Regions from separate parts of the Homo sapiens genome. Here regions 2, 3, 4, 5, 6 and 7 are each linked to region 1. Evidence: promoter capture Hi-C in 16 types of primary human blood cells and fetal thymus (Javierre and others, 2016). All regions are on one chromosome and are shown on one strand. The core of a region is centred on a gene start or on the middle of the fragment in contact, and the rest is flanking DNA. Distances in the headings are between cores, read along the strand shown. Region 1 holds the start of IL20RB-AS1 (IL20RB antisense RNA 1). Region 2 overlaps STAG1 (STAG1 cohesin complex component). Region 3 overlaps MSL2 (MSL complex subunit 2). Region 4 has its middle 4.0 kb from the start of MSL2. Region 5 overlaps PCCB (propionyl-CoA carboxylase subunit beta). Region 6 overlaps PCCB (propionyl-CoA carboxylase subunit beta). Region 7 has its middle 11 kb from the start of PCCB.

Region 1 (2,964 bases), core at 369-2,868:
TATTCTGTCGAATACCAGGGGTGAGTTTTTTCTTTTAATAGTTCTTCTCCCTTAAGCAGAAGTTGGTTCCTGAAGGCATAGCCCTTCCTCCTGAGCCCAAGGTGGCTTTTTGAGTCCAGGGATAGATTATCCCCAAAGATCTACCCCCTCTGTCTGCATAGGCATTGAAAGAGTTGAAGAAGCAAGGGAAATTGTTCTGTGGATTTGACAGTGAACTCTCTGGGAAGATGAATGTGCATAACACATTTTGGTGGAGTTATTTTAAAAAGTGAATCAACTGTCCAATGGGTTTGACTCTGACTTGAGATGGATAAATCACTGGAGACTCAGATCCTTTAAGGGTGGAGGAGTCCTCACTTTTCCTGACTATAAGCTTATACCTAGAGCCAAAACGAACTATAATCCTAAAGGTCAGCTGGCCCTGGGGCTGAGCAGGCTCTAGTCTTCTCCAGGTGTTCAGGTGCTTGCAGCTATTGAATAGTGATAAGGACACAGAAATTGCTCCATATATTTCATTAACAATGAATACAGACTGAACACCTACATGTGTAGACATTCTTCTAGGCTCAGGGATACAGTTGACAAGGTTTCTGGATTTTGAGAGCTTACATCTAGAGGAGGATACAGATGATAAATATACTAGGCCAGCATTCTCTAGTATGGTAGCCACCAGCCACAGCTGGCTATTTAAATTTAAATTAAATTAAATTAAATTAAATTAAATTAAAATGTCTGTTTCCTGCCACACTAGTCACATTTTAGGTGTTCAATAGCCACATGTGGCCAGTGGTTACCATATTGAACAACATCGATTTAGAATATTTGCATCATCACAGAAAGTTTATTTTTGGAAAGCACTGCTCTAGGGAATTTTGGATAGTAATCAGTGCTAGGAGGAAGCTAAAAGGCTGATGCCATAGAGAGTTGACACTGAGGCTCCTTTATATTAGATGGCCTGGGATGGCCTCTCTGAGGAGGTGATATTTATGCCATATCTGAAGGACAAGAGGAGCCAGCCATGCGAACAGCAGGGGCAGAGCGTTTGAGATGGAGTGAACAGTTAGTCAAAGGTCCTAAGGCAAAAAGTGCTCAGCATTTTGGAGAAATGACCAATGTGGCAAGAATATCACGCTTCGGAGCAGAGTGAGAGAGAAGGCCAAAGCATCTTGTAAGACCACTGGCAAGAGTTTGGATCCCATTCTAAGTCCTGTAGGAAGCCATTAAGGAGAGAAACGTCACAATCTGCTGAGTGGTGAATGGTTTTGAGAATGGCAGGTGTCCAAGCTGGGAGATCACAGCAAGGCAAGGAATGACAGTGGCTGAGATTAGGGTGATGACCCTGGAGATGAAGAGATAAAAGAGATCCAGACACATTGATGTTTATGCCTAGCTTTCCCTATCTGGCAATAAAAGGAGTAAGGGACGATGGATGGTTGGTAGGGAGGAGAGTGGAGGAGCTAGGATAATGAGAAAGTACTTATTTTACTTACCTGTACAAAGTAGGTGAACGAAGTCAGTTACTTGCAACCATAACTGAGCCTGTGTCAGAGGGGCTGGTGTAACTCTGTGCCCTCCTCTCTTTGACAGGGAGTACGAGAGCCTGTACACGAGCCACATCTGGATCCCCAGCAGCTGGTGCTCACTCACTGAAGGTCCTGAGTGTGATGTCACTGATGACATCACGGCCACTGTGCCATACAACCTTCGTGTCAGGGCCACATTGGGCTCACAGACCTCAGCCTGGAGCATCCTGAAGCATCCCTTTAATAGAAACTCAAGTAAGGCACTTCTCTCCTTACACTCCCACCCCAACCAGCCCCTCCTTTAGGAACCATGTTCACCTAAACTTTCTAGACTCTTTTTAGCATCAGAATAGTCCTGCAAAGCCAGAGTATTGTGAACACAAACAACCCTTACTGGTATATTTGAAAAATTGCCAACTGCTTTCTACATGCTGCTCTCTGTCATGCCCTTTGACTACTCAAGTCATTCCTGACTGTCTGTGTCAGGGTGTGCAGGTGTTGGGGATGCTGACATTGGGAACCTGGAAGGAAAGCTGCTCTGGAAGTGAAGAGGTGGCACCAGGACTGCTGCTCCCTACTCTGATTGTGCCTCCATAAATTGTGCCTCCCACTTGAGGCCTCATTAACTGCATATTTACTGCCCACGTAAGCAGCTTTGTTGTGCAAGAGGATTTATACACTTAACAGAGCCACCAGAAAATTGCCCTTCTGTAATGACTTCTGTGGGAAATAAATAACTTTTCTTTTGGAGTAGTACCTGGAAAAGGATTGAGAAAGAAGTAATAGAGGAATCCAGATAGGTGGCCAAATGTGGCTGAGTACAAGCACTGGTCATTGTATAAAAGGACATGTGTGTTTGCGGAACAGGAGAGGCAAGGGCTGATGGGCAGGGGGTAGGGAAGCAGTTGATCATGTGGTGAAGGGCTTTGACACGAAGCTTGACCAAGTCAGTAGAGGGTAGCCAATGAAAGAGGAGAGGATCTAGACCAGGTCTATCTCTTTTTTTTTTTGATACGGAGTCTCACTCTGTCACCCAGGTTGGTGTGCAGTGGCGTGATCTCAGCTCACTGCAACCTCTGTCTCCTGGGTTCAAGTGATTCTCCTGCCTCAGCCTCCTGAGTAGCTGGGACTACAGGCGTGCACCACCATGCCTGGCTAATTTTTGTATTTTTAGTAGAGACAGGGTTTCACTATGTTTTCCAGGCTGGTCTGGAACTCCTGACCTCAAGTCATCTGCCCACTTCGGCCTCCCAAAGTGCTGGGATTACAGGCATGAGCCATGGCGCCCGGCCGACCAGGTCTATCTTACAAAGCAACACTCTGGCTGCTGTGTGGAAAGTGAACCAGAGTAGGGCAAGCCTGCAGGACAGGGGAAGAGTGAGGAGGGGGTTGTAATACTCCTACTGATCCCAAGAGTTTGGAAGGGGATGGGAAGGAGATG
Region 2 (2,848 bases), core at 1-2,500, 640 kb before region 1:
AGCATCTTCCTCCATTAGACCCCGACTGGTAAGAAAAAGGTATTGTCAGAAAGCTCATCAGACTCCACCATTTGGAGTCCTGGCTGTTTCTCAGATTAAAGTTATTCTAACCAAGTGAAGTATACCTTCTAATCATGACCTACAGACTACACAAATTAGACTGAATTCCAAGACAATTAAGAATCATTCCTTTGGTTCATTCAAGATTTCATCTCACATATCAAAAGGAAGTACAATTCAATAATAACGGTTGTTAACATTTATTTATGTGTCAATTACCCTAAAAATCTTATTGGTAGTATTATCCCAATTTTACAAATGAGGAACCTGAAGCACAGATTTTTTTGAGACGGCGTCTTGCTCTGTCGCTCAGGCTGGAGTGCAGTGGCGTGATCTTGACTCACTACAACCTCCGCCTCCTGGATTTAAGCGATTCTCCTGCCTCACCCTCCTGAGTAGCTGGGATTATAGGCGCCCACCACCATGCCCGGCTAATTTTTTGTATTTTTAGTAGAGACGGGGTTTCACGATGTTGGCCAGGCTGGTCTTGAACTCCTGACCTCAAGTGATCCGCCCGCCTCGGCCTCCCAAAGTGCTGGGATTACAGGCGGAGCCACCGCGCCTAGCCAGCACAGATGTTTTAGAGCTTGTCCAAGGCCATGCAGCTGCCAAGTGGCAGAGCTAGGATTTAAATGCTGAAAGTGTTAAGAACTCACACCCTCCTTTCCTATGCTGCATAGCATATCACGAATTATAATTTTAACTCCTAAGACCAAACATCAAAGAAACCCAAGTCATTTCACAAAATGATGGGCATCACATAGTTGTTATGTTCTTGTGATACTCCATGTAACACTTACACAGCATGCCTCACTCCAGTTCTCACTTTCATGTAGTTCATTCCTGTTCTGTCCTTCCGATTTAAGTCTTCTAACTTCGGCTGGCCTAACCAAGAGATCTGCATCTGAGGACTAAGAGAGGGTACTATTATTAATTTTGTAGCAGCAGATGATGAATTTAGCTAATGAGCCCCAAGCTAAGAAAGCCAAGGTAGGTTTACTTAATCCCATGTTGGAGGAATTAGCTGGATTTATTCTGGTGCCTTTTTATAAAAAAGGCAATAAGTTGCCCAAAGATATCTGTAAGTCTCCAAGAGAAGCTGGCTGAGGCTAATTGTTAGATGCTTAAACTATCAACCAAATCTCTGCCAAACAAGGGTTCTCAGACCTCTGTTTTGGGCTGGTGCCGCACTCACAGGTGTACCTAGCTGGACAGCAGATCCCCAACTAACAGAAATTATGTTGGCTTGGCAGCTGAAAGTTCTCCAGAATTCAACAAGGAAGAATATAGCATCTTTTCCTCAGTCTTTATGGAGTCAAATCTGCACTTGTACTCTAAACTTATTGGCACATGGAAGTGTGTGTAAACATGCCTCTAAGGAATTTTTTTTTTTTTTTGAGATGGAGTCTTGCTCTGTCATCCAGGCTGGAGTGCAGTGGCACAATCTTGGCTCACTGCAACCTCCGCCTCCCTGGTTCAAGGGATTCTTCTGTCTCAGCCTCCCGAGTAGCTGGGACTACAGGCGTGCACCACCACACCCAGCTAATTTTTTGTATTTTTAGTAGACATGGGGTTTCACCATGTTAGTTAGGATGGTCTCGATCTCCTGACCTTGTGATCCACTTGCCTCGGCCTCCCAAAGTGCTGGGATTACAGGCATGAGCCACCGCGCCCAGCCAGGAATTTTTTTTTTTTAAGACAGGTTCTCACTCTTGTCACCCAGGCTGGAGTGCAGTGGCATGATCTCAGCTCACTACAACCTCTGCCTCCCAGGCTCCAGTGCTGCTCTCACCTCAGCCTTCCGAGTAGCTGGGATCACAGGCATGCGCCACCACACCTGGCTAATTTTGTGGTGGTGGTGTTGAGACAGAGTCTGTGTCACCCAGGCTGGAGTGCAGTGGCGCGATTTTGGCTCACTGCAACCTCTGCCTCCCGAGTTCAAGCAATTCTCATTCCTTAGCCTCCTGAATAGTTGGGATCACAGGCGTGTGCCACCATACCCATACATTTATAGGATGTAAACTTTAGTGGTTTTTTAGCCAATACAAACTGTCACATGAAGTTGTCTCTAAGTAGCTGTCTTTATATCATGTGGGGCCACCACCTTGATTAAACCTATAAACCTGGAGCAGGGAAAAGAAGGCAGACCATGGCCACAGGGAATGACAAATGGTAGGGTCAGAGGGGCAAGGCAGGCTGCTAAAACAAGGAGAAACCCACCCTGTAGGAAGAGGGGTGGGGATATTGGTTAGGTCACCCATCTTCGGATGCTTGCCATAAGGCAAACCACCTTCTAGGATACTTGGCAGCACAAGAATGCCCAGTTATACCATGGGTGACAGTGAGTATCCTCTTGGGTTTGAAGGCTGATCCCTTAGAGCAAAGGGATCATGAAAACCCAGGATTTGATACTTCTAACACTGTCTCTATTTTCAACCTAACTAAATTTGTTGAGTTCAAATGAGAGTTCTCCCTCTTATCCATCAGAGTAATTCACAGCATTACCCAACTATACACAGAAACACAAGTGAGGAGCTCAAAGAATTTCAAAGTTGGATGGAAAACAACAATAAGATTTTTATAAGCAAAACACGCCATCACCCTCTGCCTTCTCTACAATTTTCAGAGGTCTGTGTACTAGAAAACATTTTAATTACTAGCATGGAGGAAAGGTAAGACCTTGATTTTCTCTTTGAGGGCAACTATTCTCAGAATTTATCAAGTAAGATCTTAAAAATTCTTAATCCATGAGAAGTTTGAGTTTAAAATGTAACAAGACAAAATATTA
Region 3 (2,845 bases), core at 72-2,571, 810 kb before region 1:
ATCAATTCAAATATGACCTCCAAGAGGAAGCCTTTCTTAATTAACCTCCCTCAATCTGTTGAAAAAGCACTTTACACATTCTCCTATTACAGCACTTAATCACATTATATTGTCATTGTTCACTGGGTCTCACTCAAGGCCAGAAACTTATTTATCTCTAAATCTTTAAACTAGTGTTGGCACATAAGCCAGCACCTAATAAATGTAAAATGAATTAATCATAAAAAGAACATTAAATCTGGGAGTGACCTTGGTAATCACTTGTTCTGTGACCTCATTTTAACCAAGATGGACTTTCATGGATTACATAACTGGGTACTAGCAATGAAAAATAGAGGCTCAGTCTACTGATTCCCAGCCTAGAATTATTTTCACTTATCCAGCACTATCTGTACTTCTATTAAAACAGTCCATGGCATACACAGAGACAATTTTAGCTTCTTGCCCCTTCCCAAAAATGATTACAGAAACTGAGCAATAGGCAGAATAATTAGCCACAAGATATACAACCTTTTATTGGAAAGAAGAAATAGGAACAGGTACTGGCAATAATGGATAGTGACTGAGGCAGGAAGAGCAAAAGGAAGGGGAGGATGGATTCTCAATAACAGGTTTGTGAGGGTCAGGAAATCCTTACTGCACAAAAACTGGACCAGCAAGAGCCCTGCCTAAATTCTCTACACACTAACTTCAATTTTTAAAGTTAGCCTTAAATGCTTCAAGTGGACATATATGCTATAAAGCATTTGTACCATCTTCTGTGTAAAAGAGATTCCAACAAAAAACAAAGATCGGCCTATATACCAGTCTAAAATTTACAGCATCAGAAACCTTAATATGTATATGTATATTAAATGTGTATGCATAATGTATTCATGTGTAATATATATGTTTAAAATAAGTAAATACATATATACTAAACTCATGATTAGACTAAGCTGGTTTTCATTCATTTATAAAATTTTCTGGGAATGTAATAGCAATAAACCGATGCTGATCAACCCAAATAAACACGTACACTCTATTTCTCTTGTGGTATGAGAGTAACTATGCTGAATTTGAGTCATGGCTGGGCATGGTGGCTCACGCCTATAATCCCAGCACTTTGGGAGGCCGAGGCAGGTGGATCACGAGGTCAGGAGTTCGATACCAGCCTGACCAACATGGTGAAACCCCATCTCTACTAAAAATACAAAAAGTAGCCAGACGTGGTGGCGCACACCTGTAATCTCAGCTATTCAGGAGGCTGAGGCAGGAGAATCACTTCAACCCAGGAGGCGGAGGTTGCAGTGAGCCGAGATCGCGCCACTGCACTCCAGCCTGGGCGACAGAGCAAGACTCCGTCTCAAAAAAAAAAAAAAAAGTGGGAGAATACACTTCTCTCACTGATGTCAAAAGTCTGAGATAGGCCAGGTGCAGTGGCTCACACTTACAATACCAGCATTTTGGGAGGCTGGGGCAGGAGGATCACTCAAGCCCAGGAGTTCGAGACCAGCCTAAGCAGCATAGTGAAACCCTGCCTCTACGAAAAATAAACAAAATTAGCCAGACATGGTGGCACATGCCTGTGGTCCCAGCTACTAAGGAGGCTGAAGTGGGAGGATCATTAGAGTCCAGGAGTTCGAGGCTGCAAGTGAGCCATGATCGGATCACTGCACCCTAGCCTGCGTGACAGAGGCCCCATCTCAAAAAACAACAACAACAACAAGTCTGAGATAGGGCCGGAACAATAACCGTTTCATAATCAATTTATCTAAATTTCCCCATTTTTCACCTTTTCCAAATGAAGAGTGAATTGTTTAGCCTATGTTCATTGAATAAAACATTTCTCCTTCCTCCATTACATATGTAAATAATTCCTGGGACCCAGCTATATGCCAAACACTGTGCTAAGCCTGCCACTGTGCTAAGCCTGCCATCACTTAGCAAGGCATTCTCAAACCTTTTTTAAATCTCTGAATTATAGCACCAAAATTAAACTCCAAAATTAAAGATGTCGAGTATGTTTCCAAACAATAACTAGTAGGACATATTCTAGATACATATACAAGGAAATAATCTCTGGATTCAGCCAAACAAAAACGACTATACCATAAAAAGTTAGTATTTATCATTTCCAAATTGGTGCAAATTAATCAACAGTTCTTGGACAAGTAAAACTATATTCTTTGCCCAATATAGTTGTGTGCAGGCATATTTTAAAGTCTAAACTTCTTTTAAAACTTTTCAGTGGCCGGCTGGGTGTGGTGGCTCATGCCTGTAATCCCAGCACTATGGGAAGCCACGGCAGGTGGATTGCTTGAGTCCAGGAGTTCAAGACCAGCCTGGGCAACACAGCAAAACCCCGTCTCTACTAAAAATACAAAAAATTAGCAGGACATGGGGGCATGCACCTGCAATCCCAGCTACTCGGGAGGGTGAGGTGGAACAATCACCTAAGCCCAGGAGGTTGAAGCTGTATTGAGCCAAGATCGTGTCACTGCACTCCAGCCTGGGCAACCAGAATGAGACCCTCTCTCAAAAAAAAAAAAAAAAAAAAAAACTTTTCGGCTGGGCACAGTGGTTCATGCCTATCATCTCAGCATTGGGAGGCTGAGGCAGGAGAATCACTTGAGCCCATGAATCTAAGACCAGCCTGGGCAACTGAGTGAGACCCTGTTACTACAAAAAAAAAAAAATTTAAAAATTAACCAGGTGTGGTGGCACACACCCTTCTCTCTCTTGCTCCTTCTTTCGCCATGTGATAGGCCTGCTCCCCTTTAGCCTTCTGCCATGATTGGAAGCTTCTTGAGACCCTCACCAGAAGCAGATGCTGGCACCATACTCCCTGTACAGCCTGCAGAAC
Region 4 (2,948 bases), core at 436-2,935, 780 kb before region 1:
TAGCCAGAAGTGGTGGCAGGTGCCTGTAATCCCAGCTACTCCAGAGGCTGAGGCAAGAGAATTGCTTGAACCTGGGAGGCAAAGGTTGCAGCGAGCCGAGATCGAGCCACTGCACTCTAGCATGGGCGACAGAGCAAGTGCCAAAAAAAAAAAAAAAAAAAAAAAAGAGACATACAAGCAGCCAATGAATGTATGAAAAAAATGCTTGGCCGGGCGTGATGGCTCACGCCTGTAATCCCATCACTTTGGGAGGCTGAGGTGGGCAGATCACAAGGTCAGGAGATCCAGACCATCCTGGCTAACAAGGTGAAACCCTTTCTCTACTAAAAAATACAAAAAAAAAAAAAAATAGCCAGGCGTGGTAGCACGTGCCTTCAGCTACTCGGGAGGCTGAAGCAGGAGAATCGCTTGAACCCCAGAGGCGGAGGTTTCAGTGAGCCGAGATCGCACCGCTGCACTCCAGCCTGGTGACAGAGCAAGAATCTGTCTCAAAAAAAAAAAAGAAAGAAAAGAAAAAAGAAAAAAATGCTCAACATCACTAATCATCAGAGAAATCCAAATCCAAACCACAGTGATATACCATCTCACCACACAGTCAGAATGGCAGTTATTAAGTCAAAAAATAACAGATGTTGGGGATGTTCCAGAGACAAGGGAATGTTTATACACTGCTGGTAGCACTGTAAATTAGTTCAGCCACTGTGGAAAGCAGTTTGGAGAATTCTCAAAGAACTTAGAACTACCATTTGACCCAGCAATCTCATTACTGGGTATATACCCAAAGGAATATAAATCGTTCTACCAAAAAGACATGCACTCATTTGCTCATCACAGCACTATTTACATAGCAAAGAAATGGAATCAAACTAAATGCCCACTGACAATGGGCTGAATAAAGAAAATGTGGTACATATACACCATGGAATACTATACAGCCATAAAAAAATTATGTCCTGGCCGGGCACTGTGGCTCACACCTGTAATCCCAGCACTTTGGGAGGCTGAGGTGGGCGGATCACCTGAGGTTGGGAGTTCGAGACCAGCCTGACCAACATGGAGAAACCCCGTCTCTACTAAAAATACAAAATTGGCCGGGCGCCGTGTCTCACACTTATAATCCCAGCACTTTGGGAGGCCGAGGTGGGCGGATTACCTGAGATCGGGAGTTTGACCAGCCTGACCAACATGGAGAAACCCCGTCTCTACTAAAAATACAAAATTAGCCGGGCATGGTGGTGCATGCCTGTAATCCCAGCTACTCGGGAGGCTGAGGCAGGAGAATCGCTTGAACTTGGGAGGCAGAGGTTGCGGTGAGCCGAGATCATGCCATTGCACTCCAGCCTGGGCAACAAGAGCTAAACTCCATCTCAAAAATAATAATAATAATAATAAATAAATAAATAAATAATAAAAATAAATAAAAATACAAAATTAGCTGGACGCAGTGGTGCATGCCTGTAATCCCAGCTACTCGGGAGGCTGAGGGAGGACAATTGCTTGAACATGAGAGGTGGAGGTTGCAGTGAGCCAAGATCACACCATTGCACTCCAGCCTGGGCAACAAGAGGGAAACTCTGTCTCAAAAAAAAAAAATGTCCTTTGCAGCAACATGGATGCAACTGGAGGCCATTATCTGAATTAACACAGGAACAGAAAACCAAATGCTGCATGTTCTCATTTATAAGTGGGAGCTAAACATTGAGTACACATGGACATAAAGATGGGAACAGTAGACACTAGAGCCTACTTTCTGGGGAAGGATGACAGGAGGGTGAAAGTCCAAACCTACCAGGGTTGGGCACGGTGGCTCACACCTGTAATCCCAGAAATTTGGGAGGCAGAGGCAGGGGAATCCCAGCACTTTGGGAGGCAGAGGCGGGGGAATCATTCGAGGTCAGGAGTTCAAAACCAGCCTGGCCAACATGGCGAAACCCCATCTCTAATAGTAATACAAAAAATTAGCAAGGCATGATGGCGCATGCCTGCAGTCCCAGCTACTGGGGAGGCTGAGGCAGGAGAATCACTTGAACCCAAGAGGCAGAGGTTGCAGTGAGCCGAGATTGCAACACTGCACTCCAACCTGGCCAACATAGTGAAACTCCGTCTCTACTAAAAATACAAAAATTAGCCAGGTGTGGCCAGGCGCAGTGGCTCACGCCTGTAATCCCAGCACTTTGGGGGGACGAGGCAGGTGGATCACAAGGTCAGGAGATCAAGACCACGGTGAAACCCCATCTCTACTAAAAATACAAAAAATTAGCCCAGCACGGTGGCGGGTGCCTGTAGTCCCAGCTACTCGGGAGACTGAGGCAGGAGAATGGCGTGAACCCAGGAGGCAGAGCTTGCAGTAAGCAGAGATTGCCCCACTGCACTCCAGCCTGGGCGACAGAGTGAGACTCCGTCTCAAAAAAAAGAAAAAAAAAATTAGCCAGGTGTGATGACACATTCCTGTGATCCCAGCTACTCCAGCCTAGGCTACACAGCCAGACTCCCTCTCAAAAAATAAATAAATAAAAAGTTGAAAACAATGGTAAAGGTGGTAAATTATATATGTATATTTTTCCTAAATAAAAAACCTCTGAAATAAATGCAGTTTGATTCTTTTTAAAAAAAAAACATTAAAAGTGCTTTAATTATTTAGGAAAAATCATATATAACTCAAATTCCTTTTTTTTTTTTTTGAGATAGTCTCACCTAGGCTGGAGTGCAGTGCTTACTGTGTCCTCAGCCTCCTGGGCTCAAGCAATCCTCCCACTTCAGCCTCCTGAGTAGCCGGAACTACAGGCACATACCACCATGCCCGGCTAATTTTTTTTTTTTTTTTGTATTTTTTGTAGAGACGGGAGTCTAACCATGTGGCCTAAGCTAAAGGGATCTGACTCCAGCCTCAGCCCCCCACAGTGCTGGGATTACAGGCATGAGCCACAGTGCCTGGCCTATAACTCAAA
Region 5 (2,759 bases), core at 1-2,500, 720 kb before region 1:
ATTTTAGCCCAGTCAATCCTGTGTAGCGCTTCTAAATTATAGAACTATAAGATAATACATTTGTGTTGTTTCAAGGCACTGAATTTATATTAATTTGTTATAGCGGTAATAGAAAACTAACACAGAATATGTTGTGTACTATTTTGGATTTGACTTTTTTCTCTCCAGAGGTGGAAATATGTATATAATTTAAAATGCTTAGGTCTTTTTACAGACCTAAAGTTTGATATTAAAATTGGCTAGGCGTGGTGGCTCATGCCTGTAGTCCCAGTACTTTGGGAGGCTGAGATGGGTGGATCACCTGAGGTCAGGAGTTTGAGACCAGCTGGCCAACATGGCGAAACTCCATCTCTACTAAAAACACAAAAATTAGCTGGGTGTTGTGGGTGCCTGTAATCCCAGCTACTTGGGAGGCTGAGGCAGGAGAATCGCTTGAACCTGGGAGGCGGAGGTTGCAGTGAGCCGAGTTTGCGCCACTGCACTCGAGCCTGGGTGGCAGAGTGAGACTCCATCTCAAACAAAAAAATAATAAAATAGTTATACTTGGTTAATTTAAAATCTGTCGTAGTTAGTATGCATTTACCAATTAAATTACCTTTGAAATGTTTTAAAACTGTTATAAATTGGTCTACCAAATGCCGAAATAGAAGGAATCACATTTGTTTTGTGCAATTTATGAGAGCTGAGAAAAACTTGTACAGAAGGAACCATTGAAAAGAGAGATAGAACAAAGATGTTTTCTGGACATGATGTTCACTCACCACTATTAAGCAGATGGAAGAATTCACTGAATTGATACTTTTGACCACCTCTTATGCTCATGTGGTAGGGTGGGAGTGAGGAGAAGGTGGAGATGACTGAGACAAGAGTTCCCACCCTGAAGAAGCGAATCATTTTATAGGCAGAATGGCACAGAACGGATGTAACTACAGAGCACATGGAGTGAGAGGTTCCAGGCAAATGCTGTAGACCCAAGACAAGGGAAAATCACATCCAGGGTTGAGGAAAGCTTTAGGAACAATGGGGCAATTGAGACAGGCCCTGAAGGATACTGAGGGTAGGGAGTGATGAGCTAGTGTTTTTTAATAGTGATCTCCAAGATGTTAATATCTTAGGTGCTTTTTCTGGGGAGCTTCTGTTCTTCTGGGGAGCCTCCTCAGTCCCTTGCCTGATAATTGGCTGTTGGTGTATTCTGAGGGGGAGAGAAAAAAAGGGGCCAGCACTCATTCAGTGTATAGGCTCCTAATCTTGCATGTTTTCAGCCTCACCTTTTCCTCTTTTAGGCTAGCGATTGTGAGTTTAGAACCCTTCTGGTTAATTTCCTTTAGAGAACAAACATTCTCTGTCCTCTCAAGGTGAAGGAGAGGCCCTGTGGGGTCTGACTGCTTCTAACAGAGACTTCTGTTAGTCTCTGTTTTCAGCCTCCTTCTCACCTCCACTTTCCATGGTTCCTGGGTTGTCTTCTCCTTGATTACCCCCACTGCAGGTGTGTAAGCTTCCATTCTCTCCCTCTAAATCAGGTATTTTCTTGTGCTTTCAGTTCCCCCCAAATTTGTTTAATCCTTCCTATGCTATTGTCTCCTTGTTCTTATTCTCACAGCTGATTCTGTTCTTAATTCCTAACTGTCTTTTTGAGGGGGTTTTAGGAGAGGTTATGCCCACAATAAGCCCTTTACATCTGAACATAATGAAGATCCATAAGCAGAAGAAGCAGTGAGAGCTCTGATTCTTGTTTTTTAACCTTTCTTTTTAAAACAGCAAATAATAGGCTGGGCACAGTGGCTCCCGCTTGTCATCTCAGCACTTTGGGAGGCCGAGGTGGGTAGATCACTTGAGGCCAGGAGTTTGAAACTGGCCTAGCCAACATGGCAAAACTGTCTCTAATAAAAATACAAAAATTAGCTGGGCCTGGTGGCACGTGCCTGTAATCCCAGCTACTCGGGAGGCTGAGGCAGGAGAATCACTTGAACCTGGGAGGCGGAGGATACAGTGAGCCAAGATTACGCCACTGCACTCCAGCCTGGGTGACAGAGCAAGACTTGGTCTCAAAATGATAAGTAAAATAAAACAGTAAATATTTCTTAAAAACAGAAGTGCTTGACTGTTTGATATCCATAGAATCTGATATTAGAGTTAATTCTGTGTGATAGGTTTTCCTTCAGAACTGCAAATCATTTCTTTTTTTTCCTTTCAAATCATTTTTGTAGAGCAAAGACTAGCTCTTTTGCTCTTGACAATTCATGAACTTCCTTTAAGATATTTTATTCTATGGAATAATCTATAAATCAGACTTCTTTTCTAATTTTTTAAACTTCTGAAAATGCTTTAAAAACTATATGTATGTATTTTTTTAAATACAGAGTCTCGCTCTGTCGCCCAGGCTGGAGTGCACTGGAGCAATCTCTGCCCACTGCAGCCTCCGCCTCTTGGATTCAAGTGATTCTCCTGCCTCAGCCTCCCGAGTAGCTGGGATTACAGGCACACACCACCACGCCCAGCTAATTTTTATATTTTAGTAGAGATGGGGTTTCACCATGTTGGCCAGGGTGGTCTGGAACTCTTGACCTCAAGTGATCCTCCTGCCTTGGCCTCTCAAAGTCTTGGGATTACAGGTGCGAGCCACCATGCCCGGGCAACTTTTTTTGTTTTGTTTTGTTTTGTTTTGTTTTGTTTTGAGACAGGGTCTTGCTCTGTTGCATAGGCTGGAATACAGTGGTGCTGTCTCAACTCACTGAAGCCTCTGTCTCCAGGGCTCAAGC
Region 6 (2,981 bases), core at 470-2,969, 660 kb before region 1:
GCTTACTTAGGGATAGTTTCTTCATTTTATACCTTGTGATTTTTTTAATTGAAAATGGGGTATTTATACATTATAATGTGGTAACGCTGGCAGTCAAATTTTCCTCTTTTCCCAAGCTTTGTTTTTTTTTTTTTTGATATTTAATGTCATATATGTTTGCCTAGTGTCTTTTTGCAATGACTTTTCCAGAGACTATATTTTTTGTCATTTGTGGTCACTGAAGTCCCTGTTTCTTCTTATTGTTTCTTTCTTTCTTTTGAGACAGGGTCTTGCTCTGTTGCCTGGGCTGGTCTTGAACTCCTGTCCTTAAGAGATTCTCCCAAAGTAGCCTCCCACAGTGTTAGGATTACAGGTGTGAGCCACCATGCCCAGCCTGTTTCTTAACTTGTATATTTGACAGAAATTTTCTTGAACACCAGGAACTAAAACCAAGAAACAACAAACAAGAAAACTCCTGGTCTTGAAATTGTCTCTGTGTTGGGGCTCTCCTTTGATGCTTAGCCAAACTTGAACTAAGGTTTGAGATCAGCTCAAGGTTAAAGTTTAAGGTTTTCTCTGGTCTTTTATTTTGTAATAGTGTTTTCATTTTCATTCAACTTCTTTTCTTATTTCCCCTCTCAGATCTTTTCTGATCGTGTATCTCATCCTAGGCATACATGTGTCTTTCTGAATTCTCCCTATTCACGGGTGCTTTTGAATGCACTAATTTCCTAAAGACACTCTCTGTTTTTTTTTTCTCCCATATCTTAGGTGGTTTCAACAGTAATCTTTTGCCCAGACATCTGCAGGTTGTTCCTCTACCTTACCATGATTTAAAGAAATGCCTGCTACATTTCCAGCCTGGATAAGTTCTGAGTTAGGTGAAACAGAGATGTGTTCCTTGTGTCAGTCCTTCAGGCAGCCCACAGACAGGTTAGAGCAGACATATGCGGAAATTTGTGAATGAGGTCTGCTCTGCTTCCTCCAGAACCAGGGAGGAAATGGGACAAGTGTAATTAAAAAGGCACAGAGCTTTCATACCATTTTCTTTTATTTTTTTGAGACAGAGTCTCACTCTGTCACCTAGTCTGGAGTGCAGTGGCATGATCTTGGCTCACTGCAACCTCCTTCTCCCAGGTTCAAGCAATTCTCCTGCCTCAGCCTCTGAGGTAGATGGGATTACAGGTGTGCACCACGCTCGGCTAATTTTTGTATTTTTAGTAGAGACAGGGTTTTGCCATTTTGGCCAGGCTGGTCTTGAACTCCTGACCTCAGGTGATCCGCCCACCTTGGCCTCCCAAAATGATGGGATTACAGGTGTGAGCCACCACATCTGGCCATTTTTTTTTGTTCTTTTAGAGACAGAGTGTCACTATGTTGCCCAGGCAGGTCTCAAACTCCTGGGCTTAAGCAGTCCTCCACTTTGGCCTCCTGAGTAGCTGGGACTACATTGTCTTTTTATTGTTGATTTCTAGGGCCTGGCTTGTGACTTGCCTATTTATTTCCTTTCCTTTCCTTTTTTTTTTATTTGAGATGGAGTCTCACTCTGTTGCCTAGAGTGGTGGTGCAATCTTGGCTCACTGCAACCTCTGCCTCCTGGGTTCAAGTGATTCTCCTTCCTCAAGCCTTCTGAGTAGCTGGGAGTACAGGTGCCTGCAACCACGCCTGGCTAATTTTTGTATTTTTTAGTAGAGATGAGGTTTCACCATGTTGGCCAGGCTGGTCTTGAACTCCTGACCTCAAGTGGTCTGCCTGCCCGACCTCCCAAAGTGCTGGGATTACAGGTGTGAGCCACTGTGCCGGGCCATGTTTTTATTCATGAATGGATATTAAATTTTTTCAGGTATTTTCTCTACATCTATTGAGATGTTCATATAGTTTTTTTCCTTTATTTAATAATTTCATTAGTTTTCACATGCTGAAATCAACCTTGAATTCTTGGGATAAACCCCACTTGGACATGATGTATTACTGTTTTTTTGAGATGGAGTGTTGCTCTGTCACCCGGGCTGGAGTGCAGTGGCATGATTTCAGCTCACTGCAAGCTCCGCCTCCCGGGTTCACACCATTCTCCTGCCTCAGCCTCCCAAGTAGCTGGGACTACAGGTACCCGCCACCACACCCGGCTAATTTTTGTATTTTTAGTAGAGACAGGGTTTCACCTTGTCAGCCAGGATGGTCTCGATCTCTTGACCTCGTGATCTGCCCGCCTCGGCCTCCCAAAGTGCTGGGATTACGGTCATGAGCCACCGCGCCTGGCCTACTGTTTTTGTATATATTGCTGGACTTGATAATGTGCCTTACTTAAAAAGTAAAAATTTTTCATTTATGTTTTTGGTCTGTATTCTTTTCTGATGATGGTCCTTGTCTTGCTTTGGTATTGGGGTAATACTGGTCTCATAGAATTAAGTTGGAAACTCTTCTAGGAGGGGAGATTTACTAGTAATTGAGCTCCTACTCTGTGCTGCTTTATAGATTCCATTTCCTTTACTCCTTGGAACTATGCTAGGAGGCAGTATCGTCCCTACTTTGCAGGTAAGGAACCTTAGGTCAAAAGGCAAAGTAATTTCTCAAGGGCACGTTGCCATCATCAGTGGAGCCAGAATCTGATTGGAAGCTCTGAGGACTCTCTAAGACCAGCCCTTGAATGCTGCCTCCCACTGATGGCTCCCTGCGGCAAGGCCGGCTGTGTCTCAGCTGGCGGCAGCCCTTTGGTCTGTAGTGAGTCTGTAGTAGTCTAGTTCTGGGCCTCTTTGGCCAGTGACAGACAGGTGGATTCTTCATCTTCCCTGTTTCCTGGAGTTTGAGGGGTCCTTGTTACCATTCTGCAACAAAGAAGTGTTGGTGCCTCCACAGAAACCAGCTTTGGATGGCTGCTGAGGACAAATCCCCATTGTGGATAGAACTGGGAATTGCCTGGATACTCAGTATGGATAATCTCTCTCTTTCTAGGATGCTTGGATATTAATTCATCTGTGAAAGGGGCTCGTTTTGTCAGATTC
Region 7 (2,735 bases), core at 151-2,650, 740 kb before region 1:
CATTGGCCCAGTAGAGGGTGTGGCATACATAGATAACTGTCAACTAAAAATTTGTAATCCTTCTTCTGCTGTGTGGAGTTGCTACTGGAAAGTGGCTGGCCAGCCAGGGAGTACATTGTCATCCTTGCCCTTGCGTCCAGGTGGAGGTGGGGTCTTTAATAAACAGGGCTTCCCTTCCACTTGTCTTCTTCCCCATTCTCCAGTTGAATACAGACAAATCTAGGGATGATGAACCCACAAGACAGAAGAAGCCTGGGTCCTTAAATCACCGCAAGGGGGAAAGCTGCCCACCGTGTGGAAGAATAGCTACACTAGAATGTCAGGGTAAACAACAAGCTTCTATTATGTTAAGTAACTTAAACCTTGGGGTTTGTTACAGTTGCTAGCATTATTTTAAGCAATATAGAGATCATTTGTCCTTTTCTAAGATCTTTCTCATGCTGGGGTGTGAGCATGTTACTCAGTCTCTGCCAATTTGATGTTCCCACTCAATATTATAAGTGGGGGAGCCCACTATGCAAAGATACGCAATAGTATGAAAACTATTCACAGTGGCCTTGCAAATCCAGAAGCAGTCACAGCAAGGTCTGTCAATAGTGGTATCTAGGTCAATGTCCACTGTTCTTGTGGCATGAGCTTAGCTGTGTTTTTCTGCTTCTAGATTATCTTGCTTTTTGACTCTTTTCTATCCCCCTTGATAATTCCTTCCTTCCAATAATTCATTTTCTTCTTTAGGTATCCAGGATCAGTTCTCATGTACATTGTCTTTCCCATCTATTCTGGATTCTCTTTCCAAACTAGAGTGGGATTATCACTTTTTTTTTTTTTTTTTTGAGACGGAGTCTTGTTCTGTTGCCAGGCTGGAGTGCAGTGGCACCATCTCAGCCCACTGCAACCTCCGCCTCCCGGGTTCAAGCAATTCTCCTGCCTCAGCCTCCCGAGTAGCTGGGACTACAGGCATATGCCACCACTCCCAGCTAGTTTTTTATTTTTATTTTTATTTTTATTTTAGTAGAGATAGGGTTTCACCATATTGCCCAGGCTGGTCTCGAACTCCTGAGCTCAGGCAATCCACCCGCCTTGGCCTCCCAAAGTGCTAGGATTACAGGCGTGAGCCACTGCGCCCTGCCGGGATTTTTACTTATTAAACATCTATTGCATACCGTGTACTCTACATATGTTTTCTCACTTAATTTAATCCCTCCAACTATTCTATAGGGTCAATATTATTATCATGATTTTATAAGTGAAAAAACTGTAGCTGAAAGAGATGAACTGATTTGCCTAGTTACACTGCTTGTTAGTATCATTTGGAATCCAGTTTTACAGCACCAAAGCATGCTTTCCATCCTACCAGAAACCCTTCACTAGCTCATAATGAGGGCAATCCTCTCCAGCGCCCTTTCTAGCCTATAAATTGTTCTGGAAGTGAGGAATGCATCAATATTTACTTAATCCTTTCTTACATACAAAAGGGGTTATAAGGAAAGTTCTGTTGTTGCAGCTGTTTTCTAAGCCTTCAAACAATATTGTTTTTCTTTTCACTTTTTCTTTTCCTTCCCTCCCCTGCTTCTGTCTGTCTTTCCAAAACAACAAACTAAGGGTAACTGCAGAAGGTACAGTGGTGGCACCGCTTCATTTAGTTCTCTTGCTGACTTTCCTTAGACTGCACTGCAGTCTAAGAATGCTTCTTCCCAACCTTCCCTCTTTCTCTCATTCACTCAGGATCACACTTACATCAATCATAGGGTTGAAATTTTGAGCGAGTTGGATGGGAAGAACCATATCCTAATAAAAAGTAATGATCTTTATTACTTTTTTTTTTTTTTTTGAGACGGAGTCTTGCTCTGTCTCCCAGGTTGGAGTGCAGTGGCGTAATCTTGGCTCACTGCAATCTCTACCTCCCAGCTCAAGCCATTCTGCCTCAGCCTTCTGAGTAGCTGGGATTACAGGCGCGTACCACCATGCCCAGTTAATTTTTGTACTTTTAGTAGAGACGGAGTTTCACCGTGTTGGCTAGGCTGGTCTTGAACACCTGATCTCAAATGATCCGTCTGCCTCCGAAAGTGCTGGAATAACAGGCATGAGCCACCGCACCCAGCCTTGAAAATACATATGTCAGGTAGGAAGATAAAACCTATTTTATTTAAAAGTTTGTGTATTAAAAGACATGGTCAAAAGAATGCAAAGGGCTGGGTGTGGTGGCAATCTTTATTACTTTTGATGTTCCCCAGTGAGTATATCTTAAATGTCAACACCACCCGTAGGAAACTAGATAGGTTTCCCATGGTTCATGGGAAAGAAGCTGGCTCTAGTAATGGAGCTGAGCGTCAGATAATCCCCTCTTCACAGAGAAACTAGAGTAGCAAGAGAGAAAGTTCTTTCAATGACTGAATACCCCATGTATCTGGAACCACTGGGTACTGGAAACACAGAAATAAAAATGATAGAGTCCTTATCCAAAATAAGCTTATAATCTCATGGGGAGTCATATATGAATAGCTAATTTGTTTCCAGTTTCTAGATGTTAACCTCAATTGCTTTAGAACAGCATAATTCATACCAAAAGCTCAAAATCACCCATTATAATAAAAATAATTGTGAAAGTATCATAACTCATATAGTCTTTTAGAAATGCAGGAGGAATTATAAAAGAAAAAGAAGAAGAGAGGCCACTAATTAAAACAAACATTTCTTAATCTAGTGCCATGACTCTTGCCTTAGAATTTTCTAAG

What was found. The method cuts DNA at HindIII sites, captures the fragments that hold promoters and counts their contacts. A CHiCAGO score of 5 or more calls a contact.
Region 2: a fragment that was not itself captured here is called in contact with the fragment with the promoter of IL20RB-AS1 in region 1 in 11 of 17 cell types (naive CD8 T cells, naive B cells, non-activated CD4 T cells and 8 more); the score reaches 9.3 in naive CD8 T cells.
Region 3: a contact is called between a fragment that was not itself captured here and the fragment with the promoter of IL20RB-AS1 in region 1, in 1 of 17 cell types (fetal thymus). The highest score is 5.4, in fetal thymus.
Region 4: a fragment that was not itself captured here is called in contact with the fragment with the promoter of IL20RB-AS1 in region 1 in 1 of 17 cell types (fetal thymus); the score reaches 8.2 in fetal thymus.
Region 5: a contact is called between a fragment that was not itself captured here and the fragment with the promoter of IL20RB-AS1 in region 1, in 1 of 17 cell types (monocytes). The highest score is 5.1, in monocytes.
Region 6: a fragment that was not itself captured here is called in contact with the fragment with the promoter of IL20RB-AS1 in region 1 in 4 of 17 cell types (neutrophils, naive CD8 T cells, activated CD4 T cells and 1 more); the score reaches 7.8 in neutrophils.
Region 7: a contact is called between a fragment that was not itself captured here and the fragment with the promoter of IL20RB-AS1 in region 1, in 5 of 17 cell types (non-activated CD4 T cells, fetal thymus, naive B cells and 2 more). The highest score is 7.8, in non-activated CD4 T cells.

Annotation. Positions count from the first base shown.
Region 1 is chr3:136,980,573-136,983,536 of GRCh38, forward strand. It overlaps IL20RB-AS1 (IL20RB antisense RNA 1), which reads right to left and starts at 1,619. Exons shown (of 4, transcript NR_183729.1): 1 at 1,491-1,619. IL20RB (interleukin 20 receptor subunit beta) reads left to right here. Exons shown (of 7, transcript NM_144717.4): 2 at 1-20; 3 at 1,588-1,778. The HindIII fragment of the contact is 2,087 bases long and covers 372-2,458 here.
Region 2 is chr3:136,340,581-136,343,428 of GRCh38, forward strand. It overlaps STAG1 (STAG1 cohesin complex component), which reads right to left. Exons shown (of 34, transcript NM_005862.3): 31 at 861-971; 32 at 1-25. Among named protein-coding and RNA genes, the nearest start is that of PCCB, 92 kb to the left of the region's middle. The HindIII fragment of the contact is 9,398 bases long and covers 1-2,848 here.
Region 3 is chr3:136,173,997-136,176,841 of GRCh38, forward strand. All of the region lies in intron 1 of MSL2 (MSL complex subunit 2), which reads right to left. Among named protein-coding and RNA genes, the nearest start is that of MSL2, 21 kb to the right of the region's middle. The HindIII fragment of the contact is 2,920 bases long and covers 1-2,781 here.
Region 4 is chr3:136,198,812-136,201,759 of GRCh38, forward strand. No RefSeq gene overlaps it. Among named protein-coding and RNA genes, the nearest start is that of MSL2, 4.0 kb to the left of the region's middle. The HindIII fragment of the contact is 6,162 bases long and covers 1-2,948 here.
Region 5 is chr3:136,257,418-136,260,176 of GRCh38, forward strand. All of the region lies in intron 3 of PCCB (propionyl-CoA carboxylase subunit beta), which reads left to right. Among named protein-coding and RNA genes, the nearest start is that of PCCB, 8.5 kb to the left of the region's middle. The HindIII fragment of the contact is 486 bases long and covers 1,008-1,493 here.
Region 6 is chr3:136,323,872-136,326,852 of GRCh38, forward strand. It overlaps PCCB (propionyl-CoA carboxylase subunit beta), which reads left to right. Exons shown (of 15, transcript NM_000532.5): 11 at 2,932-2,981. Among named protein-coding and RNA genes, the nearest start is that of PCCB, 75 kb to the left of the region's middle. The HindIII fragment of the contact is 3,211 bases long and covers 115-2,981 here.
Region 7 is chr3:136,237,864-136,240,598 of GRCh38, forward strand. No RefSeq gene overlaps it. Among named protein-coding and RNA genes, the nearest start is that of PCCB, 11 kb to the right of the region's middle. The HindIII fragment of the contact is 2,133 bases long and covers 335-2,467 here.